2 separate regions of the Homo sapiens genome follow, and region 2 is linked to region 1. Evidence: promoter capture Hi-C in human tissues and cell types (Jung and others, 2019). All regions are on one chromosome and are shown on one strand. The core of a region is centred on a gene start or on the middle of the fragment in contact, and the rest is flanking DNA. Distances in the headings are between cores, read along the strand shown.

Evidence for each region. The method cuts DNA at HindIII sites, captures the fragments that hold promoters and counts their contacts. A contact is called where the count stands out against the background at its distance.
Region 2: a fragment that was not itself captured here is called in contact with the fragment with the promoter of SACS in region 1 in 1 of the 25 tissues and cell types used here (dorsolateral prefrontal cortex).

Annotation. Positions count from the first base shown.
Region 1 is chr13:23,429,715-23,436,989 of GRCh38, reverse strand. It overlaps SACS (sacsin molecular chaperone), which reads left to right and starts at 3,288. Exons shown (of 10, transcript NM_014363.6): 1 at 3,288-3,375. RefSeq lists an enhancer at 3,469-4,036. The HindIII fragment of the contact is 7,525 bases long and covers 1,922-7,275 here.
Region 2 is chr13:23,814,965-23,822,239 of GRCh38, reverse strand. All of the region lies in intron 14 of MIPEP (mitochondrial intermediate peptidase), which reads left to right. Among named protein-coding and RNA genes, the nearest start is that of PCOTH, 70 kb to the left of the region's middle. The HindIII fragment of the contact is 3,621 bases long and covers 1,333-4,953 here.

The DNA of each region.
Region 1 (7,275 bases), core at 2,039-4,538:
TGCTAACCTTTCTGAGTTGATAAAATCTGACCCTCATACAGATTGAGGAAGAGGCCAAGAAAACCATGTGGTCTCCAGGCCACATGTGAGCAGAGCTTTGGCCACGTGATATGGCTGGAACGAAAGACTGGCACGGTAGGAGCAGCAGCTGGGAGGATCCAGGGGAAGGAGTCAGCATATTGCAGCAGCTCTTTGAAACCTCTGGACAAGTGGCAGAGACTCATCCTCTAGCTGCACTTTTGTGGTTCTGGACAGCCGTGGCACCAGGTCATATTTTCTCATGTTCTAGGCTCAGCTTAGGGTAAGGTGGAGACATTGACTTAGGGTTCTCCAGAGAAACAGAACTAAAGATATTTATAGATATGTAAGAAGGGATTTATTATGGAAATTGGCTCATGTGCTTGTGGAAGCCAGTAAGTCTCCTGATCTGCCATCTGCAAGCTGGAGAACAAGGAAAGCTGTTGGTGTGATTCAGTCTGAGTCTGACTGCCTGAGAACCAGGCGAGCTGATGGTGTAAATCCTAGTAGAAGGCCAAAGGCCTGAGAATGAGGTGGGGTGCTGGTGTAAGTCCTGGAGTCTGAAGATCTGAGAACCAGGACCTCTGATGTCCAAGGTAGGAGAAGATGGGATGTACCAGCTCAAGGAGAGAGAGGGAGAGAATTTGTTCTTCCTCTGACTTTTGGTTCTCTATCTGGGCCCTCATGTGGGATGATGTCCGTCTACATGGGTGACAGCAGAGCTTCTTTACCCAGTCTAGTAATTCAAACGCTAGTCTCTTTGGCAGACACCCTCACAGACACACCCAGAGAGGATGCTTTACCAGCTATCTGGGTATTCCTTAGCCCAGTCAAGTTGACACCTAAAATTAACCATCACAGACAGATTGACCTCTGACTTGGGTATGTTAACGGTCAATCTTTGCCCAGAATGTGGAAGATCTGTGGTTCATGAATTATCCAGAAATCTTTGCTTTCTTAAATTTTTAGGACAAAGTCTAAATCTTTTGACAACAACATTCCAATAGCATAAATGGCACCATAAGTGTAAATGAACTCATATGGTTTATTTCATGTGCCATTGTATCTGGACAGTGGCATAGTGAAGGGCTTGCAATGCACATGAAATCACCTTCCAAATGTGTAGAAAGTCACATATAAACACATGCAATTTGTTGTAACAGTAACAAGGTGTATCACAGGCAGTGCTCACAAGGGTATTTAAGCTTTGACTTCTACATTGCAACACTATTTTTTGTCTTTTTTTTTTTTAATTTTAGAGATGAGGTCTACTCTGTCGCCCAGGCTGGTGTGCAGTGGTGCAATCATAGCTCACTGTAACCTTAAACTCCTGGGCTCAAGTGATCCTCCCACCTCAGTCTCCCGAGTAGCTAGGACTGCAGGCATGCACGACCAATGCCTGCTTAATTTTTTAATTTTTGTAGAGATGAAGTCTTGCTATGTTTGTTTTTGTTTTTTTGGGACAGGGTCTCACTCTGTTGTTTAGGTTGGAGTGCAGTGGCACAATCTCAGCTCACTGCAACCTCTGCCTCCCAGGTGCAAGCAATTCTCCTGCCTTAGCCTCCAAGTATCTGAGATTACAGGTGCACACCACTGCACCCAGCTAATTTTTGTATTTTTAGTAGAGATGGGGTTTCATCATGTTGGCCAGGCTGGTCTTGAACTCCTGGCCTCAAGTGATCCACCCACCTCGGCCTCCCAAAGTGTTGGGATTACAGGCGTGAGCCATTGCGCCCAACCTGAGGTCTTGCTATGTTGCTCAGGCTGGTCTCAAACTCCCGGCCTCAAGCAATCCTCCTTCCTCAGCCTCCTGAGTTGCTAGGACTACAGGCATGTACCACCACACCTGGCTAAGCAACACTATTTCTGAATAATCAATATTTCACTGGATACTTTTATGTAGTGTGAGTAGGTAGGCAAAATCGTCTAACCTCTCTGAAAACTATACATATATATTATATATATAGTTTATATATATGTAGTTATTTATAACTTTTCCCTTTGGGGGTGTAATGGTTTACAGCTGTGAGTAGAAGAGCCTGCTGGGGGAGCAACATACTGGGTATTCACCGTTTAGTCTACGGTGTCTAGCTGATGCCAGGAACAAGCAAGGGCTCAATATTTGTGTGCTGAATTAAACTGATTACAACTGAACCATGTAAGAATGGTGGTAGCCTCAGAGAGGCAGCCTCACTCCACAGGCGCATGCCACCGAGGGCCTGTTGGTCCACACGGTGCTACAGTGAGAGCTCAATGAAAAGGCCCTGCAAGACACCATTTCTCCCCAATAGAAATGTGCTTTGTTTGTGATTATTCAGTCCTTTTGTTAGAACAGGTCTCCCACCTATCTCCCAGGAAATAATATGTACACAAATCTGTGAGTCTAGGATGTGAAGGAGACACCATTAGATGTGGCATCTTCTGGGTCAGACCAGTGCAGGGCCAGGTACAAGAAGCAGGGGCTCTCCTTCCCCAGTTGCTGCTGACATTTGGGGCTTGCTTTGGTCTTCTCCCAGGAGAGATCATTTGAGCCTTTTCAGGTCTGGAGTTGTTTGAACTGACTTAAGAGGAATTTTCCGCAGGAACGAAGCAATAAGAAGCTTCCGAGATCCAGTATTTCCAGATAAGCCAAAATTCTAGATTTATATGGATAAAGCAGGCAGTTCTACTAGGAGACTATCATGAGGAATATGATGTACCCAGGCCAGTGGCAGGATAGCTGTGCGCCGAAATGAAATAAATGCTGGTGGTATTTCACATACCCCATCAGAGGAAGCAAGAAAATAGAGTTACAATATTTTGTATTATTAAATTGAGACTAGCAATTTCAACTTAGAACAGGATCAATTGTATAGCATTTCACAGTTTACCACACATTTTGAGTGAATGCTTTTTTTTTTAACCATTGGAACCTCATAAACAACTCCAAATAACATACAAAAAGCAGATTGTGAGCTACAACATTACCAGGTCACAGGTCTTCATTTCCCATGAGGTACTCGAGACCCATGAGTGACTTGTCTAAGGTCACACAACTGGTGTTTAATAGAGCCAGTCTTCTGTTAGCCATACCTACTGCTAAAAATTAGCCTTTGCAAGTGAAGAGAACAAAAACGTGTGGTTGGTTGTCACCCCCACAATGAACGACAATGCTGCACTTGCAGCATTATTGACACCTAAGGTTGATGACAGTCCTGTCTCTTTAAGAAGAAAAAAAAAGGCTGCTGGGTAGGGGGAGCGACTGACTGCGGCAGGAGCCGCCTGGACCCAGTGCGGCTGCGGGACAGTCACGCTGGGAACTGCTGATGGCACTGGAGGAAAACAAAGGCCGAGAGACCCTGATGCCCACAGCCCCCAGTAAGTCCAAGGTTCCAGCTGGGTGGCCAGCGAGGGCAGCTGCAGGAGCGGCCTGGGGACGGGCAGGCTCCATGGTGTTGTTGGCCATCCGTCCCCTGAGCCTTGGGAAACCAGGGCTCGGCCACTGCAGCTGCTTGGGGGAGGTAAGGGGCCACTTTCCTTTAACATACCCGCCTTCGGAGAGGACAGAGACGAGAGGGCCTTCAGCGTGCTGTACAGCTGTGAGTAATGAGCTCTTCTGAAAATGTACAGTTTGGGTTGGCTGCTTGTGAATTTGTGGGTGAGGAGCGGCTGCAGGGTGACTAGAGAGATCTGCCGCGGTCAAGATGCTGGACTAGCCGCTTTGTCATTTTAATTTCCACCCGGGTTGCCAGGCACCGCCACAATGGAGCTGTTGCAGTAACACAGCGTGGGGTCCAGAGTCTTATTGAACAATAAGATGGGATTCTCAAAGTAGCTTACGGTTAATTTGCAGAATTGCTCTCACTTTAAACAGCATGCCTTCAAACAATGCCATATGTTATGGTTATCTTATATAATATTTGAAAATCCTGCTTTTAGTTAAAAAATATTTCACATATTTAATTTTATTCTAATAAGCGATCATTAGATTCTTTGAAAGAGTATTCCAGCTTTAGCAACAAAACCTCTCTCTCGCTGTCTTTTTTTCTTCCTTAAAACGAGGTCAATACCTCAGAGAAGAGGACTGGATTTGTTTCTATTAAAACATATCAATTGTTTTGGCTTTAATCTTAATTCTCTCTGCCCCTGAAGATGGATAAAGCCCATTCCGCTTAAGTAAAAGGCAGAAGCCAGGTTGAATCCACGTGCTTCCCAAGCGCAAGCTGCTCTGAAGTTATTTTGAAGGGGAACTCTTCATTTCTCCATCAGTGCAGATAAAAGTAATTGATTCACAGGTCATGGATGAAAATAATAATAATAATAATAAATAATTGACAATCCCATTTTATTTGTCACATGACAAGTAGATTTGCCATTCTGTTTTTCTTAAGCTGCCCATTGATAACCAGACTCATTCTACGTTAATGCAGGGTCATGATGTCCCAGTAGTTTTACTTATGACCATCCAGACTGCCTTCCCTAATCTTGCCCTGAAGCCTCACTTTGGGCTGTGACAACGATCCCCAGTTTCCTTTCCTCTATCCTCCTTAGCCGTCCCTTTCATCCTTTCTTCTCCTTCCTGGGCTGTTTGGGCAATTTTTTCTTTCTTTTCTCCTTGGATCTTAAAGACTCCTTCAGTCTCCCTTTCAAACAAAGCAAGCCAGATTTTCTACATACCCTATTTTCCTTTAATCTTACTTGGTTTATAAGAACTTTTCCACGATTAAGTGTTTTCTATTCTTCACATAATAGGAAGAAAAGTCCAATTATAGAACTTGAAGACCAAGGTTTGCTTACATCTGAAGCATCTCAAAACCATTGCTTTACGCAGGACTTGCCCCCAGAAGCCCCGGGTTCCAATCTCAGGTCTACCACATCCTTACTCTGCAGCCCCTGACAATCCACATAACTTCTGTGAGCCTCAGTTCCCTCCTGTGTCAGAGATGACACAATTATTCACTTAATGGTCACAGGGTTGAAACCAGGTGATTTGTATGAAGGCGCCTAGCAGGGTTCTTCACACAGTGTCACTATTTAGTAAGAGTTTTGTCGTTTTCTCACTCAGTCCACCATCTACCTAACCACCATGGTGAAGCATGCTAAAGTGGTTCATGCACCATTTCCCAAAAGGAATAAATTTTGAAATGAACTTTTGGCTGAGTGCATCTGAATGAGTCCTGATCAGTACAAAATACATATTCAGTTCTTGCTATGCACGAAACACTGTTCTAAGCCCTCTTGTCTATAAAAGGAACGCTGATGTTTCCATGTTGCCATAGGAGTATTCTTTGGAAGAAGGAAGGCCGATTCTCTTTGTACAACTCTTCCTAAATCCTTTAAGACAGCAGCAGTGATGATGATATTGACCACTCCCACCATGAGCCTACATGAGGACTACTAAATGTGATTGATGCAGAGGATGCCAAATTGGAAGTCAGGACAATTCCCATTGCTATTCTGATCTTGGACAGCCTGGGTGGCAATTTGCTCTTTGCAATGACAATCCTGTTACTATTTTAATTTCTACTTTATGTGTCTTTCTCCTGCCGTCTTTCCTTTCCTTAACTCACACTCAGGATATTGTGTAAGATTTTAACGTCTAGGAGAGGCCGTTTCACCCCTACCTAAGGGGGAACATAGCGAAGTTGGGAAAAGCACTGGATTGGGGACCAAAGGGTGTGGCTCCAGCCCTGCTTTGACTTCTCTTTGTGCTAATTAGAAAGCCTTTTAACGCCATCTCTAAGGCAAGAGACATAGAATAATCTTTCAATTTCCTTCAGGTTCTGACTAGATGATTCAGATAGCTCTCTTTGGGGTAGCCTCAGTTTACAACAATTATTTGATCAAATTAAATGCTTTTATCTCATTGATTCTTACAATAGCCTTATGAAACAGGCAGCCCCATTTTGCAGATTACAAAATGCAACCTTAAGAGAGAGTAGAACCCCAAGTATTTCTTATTAGTAAAAGGAGAGACTGACTAGATGGTAAGACTCGATTCCCTTGGGGAGCATCACTGAGTTCTCAGACTGAACTCTGAGCTCTGTTCCTACCATGGTATCCCCCTCAAGGCACTTCAAATTGACGACGATGTGAAACCCAAGGTGACACGTTGGTTCTGGGTTTTGTCAGGAGAGATCTGTGGTCCAATTATAATAACCTTACATCCAGACAAACATTTGTTTTAAATATTCTGCTCGAGATTACACCATGAGTTTGTCATCTGGGGCAGAAAATAAGGGCTCTACAGTCCACATAGCCTTTTAATGTGTTCTGAAATGACATTTAAAAATAAATCAAAGCCATCCTAATATAATTATTGGTGATCATTTAAATCCTTACCTCATTAAAGTACTAAGTGCTAGAAAGGAGTATTTGAATTCTATACGTATCTAGAATTTGTGCACATTTTCACATAGTACTACTTTAGCCTTTTTCCTTGTTTTTAATGCAATGATAAATTTCACCATTTAAAAACCCTGATAGGATTACAAGATTAAATACAAAAAATATTGCATAAGACATAAACATACTAAAAAATAATTCGTGGTTTATCTGAAACTCAAACTTAAGGTGTATATGTTTATATTTATAATTTTTATTTGCTAAATTTGGCAATATGATATAAACAGAGCTTTACTTGATCAATGATAGTTACTTAGAGCTTAAGGATATTAGTTTGTTAGGTCTTTAAGCTTCAAACATAAATTACAACCAATCTTTATGAGTTTTTTGTCAATTACACCAAATATTCCTTTAGTTTTATTTATTAATTTTTTTTTTTTGAGATGTTGTCTAACTCTGTCACCCAGGCTGGAGGCCAGTGGTGCAATCTCGGCTCACTGCAACCTCCACTTCCCGGGTTCCAGTGATTCTCCTGCCTCAGCCTCTCGAGTGGCTGGGATTACAAGTGACTGCTACCACGTCCGGCTAATTTTTGTATTTTTAGTAGAGACGGAGTTTCACCATGTTGCCCAGGCTGGTCCTGAACTCCTGATCTCCAGTGATCTGCCCACTTCAGCCTCCCAAAGTGCTGGGATTACAGGCGTGAGCCCAGCCAATATTATATTAAATGTTTATGCTAAGTGACCATCCAGAGACAATCCTGATTACAAAGAACAGATCTATGTTCATTTTACTGTCATATTCCTGAGAGTCCCTGCTAAGAATAGTAATAAAAAGTACCCAAGATTTTAATGTATTTGGAGGAAGATATACTGGGTTTTGGAACCTGGCTCCACATCATACTAGTTCTGACACTTAACCTCTTGCAGCCTC
Region 2 (7,275 bases), core at 1,894-4,393, 390 kb before region 1:
TTGGATTATTACAGTAAGCACATTAGGTCACTGTAGTTAATTACTGGCATATTATATTCCAATAGTAGAAACAACATTTCTACCATTTTCCTATTTTAAAAAACCACCCACGATGTTTGATCTCTGCTTTTGAAATACCACTGTTACGGTAGTACAAATGGCACCATTTATTGTTAGGGTAATTGCTTTTCCAACACTGTGAATGATTACTCTCTTCTAAATTCCTTTATTGCTTTATCTGCACCTCTTTTGTGGCTCTTGGTGCATTTTCCCATGCTTTATGAATCCTGAAATACATTTGGCCCTTCTGTGTCCACACAGTCAACTAACCATGGGTCAAAAATACTTGGAAAAAATAGTAATAATAACAACACAATTATTAAAATGCAAGTAAAAAAGCAGTACAGTGTAACAACTATTTACATAGCTACTTTGTATTAGGTATTACAAGTAGTCTAGACATGATTTAAAGTATATAAGAGGATATGCATCTAGGTTATCTGCAAATACTATACTATTTTATACCAGGGACTTGAACATGTATGGATTTTGTTCTTGGAGGAAGGTCCTGGAACCAACCCCCCTCAGATACTGCAGGTTGTACATTCCTTTTCTGGTTCCAGGTAGCAGGATCAGGTGAGATTCATTGTGTATTACCCAGCTGCTTAGTAGGATGCCTTGCACAGGGTGGGATGCTCGGTGAAGATGAGCCCAGAGAGTCTTGTGACAGGTCTCACCTGCTTTTCTTGCTCTGTCTTCTCTTACAGCCCATTTCGTAAGCACAGGAGGCAGCCAGCTTCAAACCAGGGCTCATTTGGACTTGGTGGGATTCTATAGTGACAAAAAAAAATCTGCAGATATTTTTATGAAAGAAACTAGGAAGGGGCATAAATTATCTGAAGTATAAAGTTCACTCAGTAAAAATTGCTTTGAAATAAATTCACATTAACATAAATTCTCAATCCATGTTTAAAATAGTCTGCCCTTGTTAAGGGATACAGATTTTATAGAAAACTGTTTCTGAACAACTCTATAGTAAGATAGTTTGTAAAGGTTGCAGATTGCAAAGCTTTACTGAGGGTATAACTAGATTTACTATTGTATTTCAATAAAATGCCTCCATAAAAATAATAGTTGATAGGTGATATCTGAAAAAATAACAGAGTGGGAATCTCCCTCTTCACTGTGGAAAAAGAAAATGTTGCAGGAGGGAAATGTGGAGCTTGCAGTTGGTATTATTTGGCGTTTTTCAGTATGGAGGCAGTGTTGGATGCTGGCTATTTTTCTTCTGTTTTGGAGCAGAGAAATCAGAATGAGTTTTGTGGATCTGCTAATGCATTGAGGAGACCAGAACATACAGCACCTTCTGTGCTCTATCCATTTGTTCCCTGGCCATAAGGAAAGGCAAATTAGTGTGCTTTCATGAGCTCCATCAACTTTCATTCCTTAGAAATGCACACTCTGATGGGGCATTGGAACTGGCTCAGGCACCAGAGCGGCAGGACACCCTGCAGGCAAGTTCCCAGAATGTCTGGGGGCTGTGCTGGCCTGGGAGAGGCAGAGCCAGGTGCGATGGAGAAGAGCTGAAGAGAAGCTTTCTAATAAAGTGGGTGTAAATATAAGACTGGAAAGAAGCTGTAAGATAGCCAGAATAACAGCTGTATTTATTCCTTTATTTCTTTACGATGTTTTATTTATAAGAATTCTTTCTTTTATTAGTGAAAGTTACATTTAATTGCTTTACCAAGTCATTTTCCAACTAGTGTTGTACATATTAAATCACCTGATTATAAAAGATGTATGGGGTGGAGGGAGCAGGTGTTCTGTGCTCAAATAATTTTGGAAAATGGGTGTAGCATTAAATGGGTTTCTATAAAGGTAGGACTACGTATAATTTAATATGCTAATAACTGGAATCCCCAAGAAAGGTGTTTACTTGAGTGAATTTCCTAGACAATCTGACCTGCTTTTATTGTTGGCTCTTCTACCACAGGCAGGGCCTCTGTTCAGTCAACACAAGCACGAGAGTTGGACAACATCAAGGGAAGGCCAAGTAACTTCACTCAACTGGATTCTATAGATACAAAATTAAGAGTGCTCGAAGAGTTTCTCACACTTAACCCATTTTTTAAATGACACATCTGTAAACCTCATTGGGGAGACATGTACAATATACTGTGTGTAGAACACTTGGAATGAAAAGAGGTTTTTTTCCTTTTTTTTTTTTATTGAGATGGAGTCTCCCTCTTGTCACCCAGGCTGGAGTGCAAGGATGCAATCTCAGCTCACTGCAACCTCTGCCTCCTAGGTTCAAGCAATTCTCCTCCCTCAGCCTCCCAAGTAGCTGGGATTACAGGTACATGCCACCACACCTGGCTAATTTTTGTATTTCTAGTAGAGATGGGGTTTCACCATGTTGGCCAGGCTGGTCTTGAACTCCTGACTTCAGGTGATCCACTGGCCTTGGCCTCCCAAAGTGCTGGGATCACAGGCATGAGCCACCGTGTCCGGCTTTTTTTCTATTTTTTTTTTTAATAAAAAGTGGAGAATTTACGCTGTATTTCAGACCAAATGTATATAACACATAGAGATTTATAGTTCTCTATCTAAAACTTCGGGATTAGATGTTTTGGAATTCAGAATTTTCTGGATTTTTAGAAAATTAATATGGTTTATGAGAAGAAAAAATTGCAACAAATTTGGTTATAGATCCGTTTGACTTTTATATGTGATTCATGAATTAGGCAGCCTCTATTCTACAAAGTAGAATGAAAGCTACCCCTGGGCAATAGCAGAAGAGTGGGCTTTATAAGGTGGGAACAAGGAAACAGAACACCAGAAAAAAAAGCCGATTGATTAGCATCAGGTTCCTCTTTTGTAAGCGTTAAAGCAAAGGGAGCTTCCATATGACACTGACTCAGGTAGACTGCGATCTCCTATTTTCAGGAAACACCGGACTGTATGGGATCTACCTGCTTCTCTAAAACTTTGGTTTGATTGTGTGGCATTTAGCATGAGTGACTCCATTTGGTTTGGTTTTGTCTACTGGGGCCCAGTGTAGGAGCTCAGTATAAAACAATGGCCTCCCATAATTTTTGTTTAACCTTATACTGTGGATGTTGAATTAAAAGAAATGAATAAACCTAGCTAGTTCTGGTAGAGTACCCAGTAGTGAAACACATTCATATTTCTGCATATTCACGAAGTGTAAGGGTAAATATTTTTAAAAGATAAATACTTTACAAACTTCACATTTGTCCAGGTCAGGTCTTGCCATCTAATGTTTTTTTTGGTCAAATTTATGAAAACTTTCCAGTCTTCAGACCTTAACGGATTATGGAATTTCAGGTAAGGGATCTAGACCACTACTCACAGAAATTAGAATGAGGCACATCATTGAATTTCCCTCTCCGCTGTTACATTTAGCCTAAAGCTGCCTTACATATTTTAAATTAGGCTTAAAGATTTCTCCATACATAATGAACTCTAACCTTACTAGAGGTATAAACAGCCTGTAACCTACCCTTGTACCAATCACAGAGTTTCAGCCAATCACAGGCTGTTCAAACCTTGTTCAAATAAGGCAAATGTGAACTGTAACCAACCCAGCTATTTCTGTACCTCACATCTGTTTTCTGTAGGTCATTTTCCTTTTTCTGTCCATAAATATTATCAGACTATATGGCAGTTCCTGAGTCTCTCTGAACCTATTCTGGTTCCAGGGACTGCCCAATTTTTAAGGTGTCCTTTGCTCTGTTTAACTCTGTTAAGTTTATTTATTTATTTATTCATTTATTTATTTTTATTAATTTTTGAGACAGAGTCTCGCTCTGTCACCCAGGCTGGAGTGCAGTGGTGCGATCTTGTCACACTGCATCCTCTACCTCCCGCATTCGCGTTCCAGCGATTCTCATGCCTCAGCCTCCTGAGTAGCTGGGATTACAGGCACCCGCCACCAGGCCCAGCTAATTTTTTTTTTTTTTTAAGTAGATACAGGGTTTCACCATGTTGGCCAGACTGGCCTCGAACCCTTGACCTCAAGTGATCAGCTTGCCTCAGCCTTCCAAAGTGCTGGGATTACAGGAGTGAACCAACGTGCCTAGCCAAACTCTGTTAAATTTAATTTGTCCAAAGTTTTTCTTTTAACGCTGCTTAGCTCACTGCAAAACCCAGAACTAAGTGTATGGCCCAACTGTGACAATGACACGGAGTTACAGGAAACATGTTTTAATGTGCCTAACCTCAATTCTGACCTCATTTTATTTTTCTGCTTTCATTTTTCCTTATCTAACTTCCTCATCTATCAATTGTATGCTAATTGTGTATTAAATATATAAATTATATTCACTGAATGTTTTATTGAGTTATTAAGTGTTCATTCAGTAAACACTGAATGTTTACTGATCCTTTTGTGGGGGAACTTGTTGAAGTATCAGTAAAACAAATTTTGGATGGAAGTGCCTTTGCCATCAAGGGGCAGCATACCTGAATCACAGGATCGAATTTTGAGGGGTACACAAACAAATTGAATCAACAAGCCCGACGTTACACACCTGCAGCATGCCTCACAGACTCCACCTTCTTGTGATGCAGGTATCGGAATTTTAATGCTTTTGAGGGCAAAGGATGATGTTTTATTGTTCTTGTTACAGGAAAAATTATTCATGAAAGTTATTAAAGAACAGTAAGGCAGACTTTATCGGGGGGCTACTGCAGTGAGGTTTGGTAGTGGGGGAGAGATTCTGCTCAACTCCATATTCAACAAGGAAAAGTGGAGATTTATAGCCAAGGAATGAGGGAGTGGAGGGAGTTGGAGGATAAAAAATTACTAAGGTGAGGAAAGGGGGATTCTCACTCGACTGACCAAACTGCTTGAGACAGTGCTCAGCTATGCTGTCTGTCATACGTGCCAAAGCTTTACAAGTTTCTTCATGATAGTCTCTGATGGTGTGTAATTCCTGACTTAAAAGCATAGTTCACCCTTTGTAAAGCTTTTCTGCCTTTGTGTTTGGTTTGGTTTGGTTTGATTTTTCTCCTTTGGAGGCTAAGCCCAAATGATATTACTTAATGAAAGTCTGAACTGTTTGGGATTTGCCCATCCACCTAGGATGCAGAAAGCTCGAAAGAGCAGTGCTGGCAACCAACCTTCCTACAGGAAAAGGCAGGTAGAATGCTAACTTTTCTCAAGCTCATAGGGAAGCTGAGGTCTCAGGGCCCTCGAGGTGTCTGAATCCAGAGAGATACAGATGGCTCACCTGTGGCAGATCATGGGTGGAAAGGTTGACTGCCGTACAAAGGGGTAAGAAGAGATCAGTAACACTTTAGCGAATTGTTAGAGTCCCAGTGTGGACTGGAATATCAATCTGGAATATCTGAGGGCCCTGATACTGGAGGAGTTTGCATTCACTTGTAGGCCATTTTCTGTCGGCCTCCTCTGGGTGCTCATGAGAGCAGGGTGGGAAAGCAGACAGGCTTCCTCCGTGTTGTAGGAAGTGATTGGCTGCTGCTGCAGAAATAGCAGAAAACCCTGACTCCCTGCTCCAAGATAAAGCTAATCAATAAAAGCAAACTGAGGAACTTGAAAATAACTAACAACTAGAATAACTTCAAAGTCACTGTCTGTCAGGGACTTAAACAACCATTAAAGGACAAGACGGAAAACATGGATAACATGTATGAACAGATAAGGAGAAGTGGAAACTACAAAAAAAAACTACAGTCAAATGCAAATGTAGGTAATAAAGCCACGATATCACATATGAAGAATTCCTTTGAGAAGCTCATCCATACACTCGATGAAACTAGGGAAGGAATCAGTGAATTTAAAGATAGATTAGGTCAGTAGAAATTATTTAAACTGAAATACAGAGTGGGGAAAGGAGTAGGGGATGGGAAACAAAAACAAAACCAAGCATCCAAGAACTCTGGGACAATACCAGCCAGTGTAACATACATGCAATTCAAGTTCCAGAAAGGAAAAGAGAGCAATAACAAGGCCGGAGAAATATTTGATGGCATAATAACTGAGAATTTGCCAAAAATAATGAAAAGCACACCAGAGATCCAAGAAGCTTCAAGAATCCCAAGCAGGACAAACAATCAGAAAGAATATACCTGGATACATTGTTGTCAAACGGCTGGAAACCAAAGATAAAGAGAAAACCTTAAAGGCAACCAGGGCAGAAAAGACACATTACAAACAGAAGTAATAATTACAGTAGACTTTTCGTTCAAAACTATGCAATTCTGAACTATCTAGACTTATAGCATGAGATACATTTGATCGTCAGAAGAGAGAGATTTTCTGATTAGTGCCAGTATTTTATAAATATGAGCTAGAACCCGCAGATGAAAAACTGACTCATTGTTTGATAACCAGTTCTACTTAAGGTGGAGAAAATATTTTCAAAAAGTGAGTTAATGACCAAGTTTTATGGCAGATATTGAAATATCGAAGATATTAATAGATTACTAGCACATTACTTTATTTCATTGTGGGGTTTTTTTGTAAACCTTAAATTAATTACCAGGTTAGAGAAAGCATCCTCTTCTAAAGCCGGGTAATTTGAGGAGGCGTACATTTTGGGTTCAAGATAATCGGCTATTTTATAAATGAAAAAAATTAAAAATAGGCCTGGCACAGTGGCTCACGCCTGTAATCCCAGCAGTTTGGGAAGCCCAGGCAGGTGGATCTCCTGAGGTCAGGAGTTCGAGACCAGCCCAGCCAACATGGCAAAACCCCATCTCTACTATACAAAAATTAGGCACAGTGGTGCATGCTTGCAATCCCAGCTACTTGGGAAGCTGAGGTGGGAGGTATCACTTGAACCTGGGAGGCAGAAGTTGCAGTGAGCCAAGATTGCACCACTGCACTCCAGCCTGGGCTACACAGCGAGACTCTGACTCAAAAAAAAACAAAAAATCAGGAAACTATGGAAGTACATTCCTTATTTAGAACTTGATTGTTAGGTGCTACAGAGAGAAAATTGTTTAGCTATAATTCCTGTCTTCTAAGAATGTATAGATCTGAAACAGATCACATTTGCAGAGTATGTAAATAACACAGTAAAATGTAAATAAAGTTCGTCAAAGTCAGTGATTATTGTATTATATAGTGCAGCAGTAGTAGTAAAGAATACCAGCTACCATTTATTCAGTATCTGTGTTAAACCTGATGTATTAACATTTTAAAACTCATTATCTTGCTTGATTCTCATCCTATGAAAAGATAATATTAACATTTTGCAGATGAGGAAAATGTGGCTTCACAGTTCA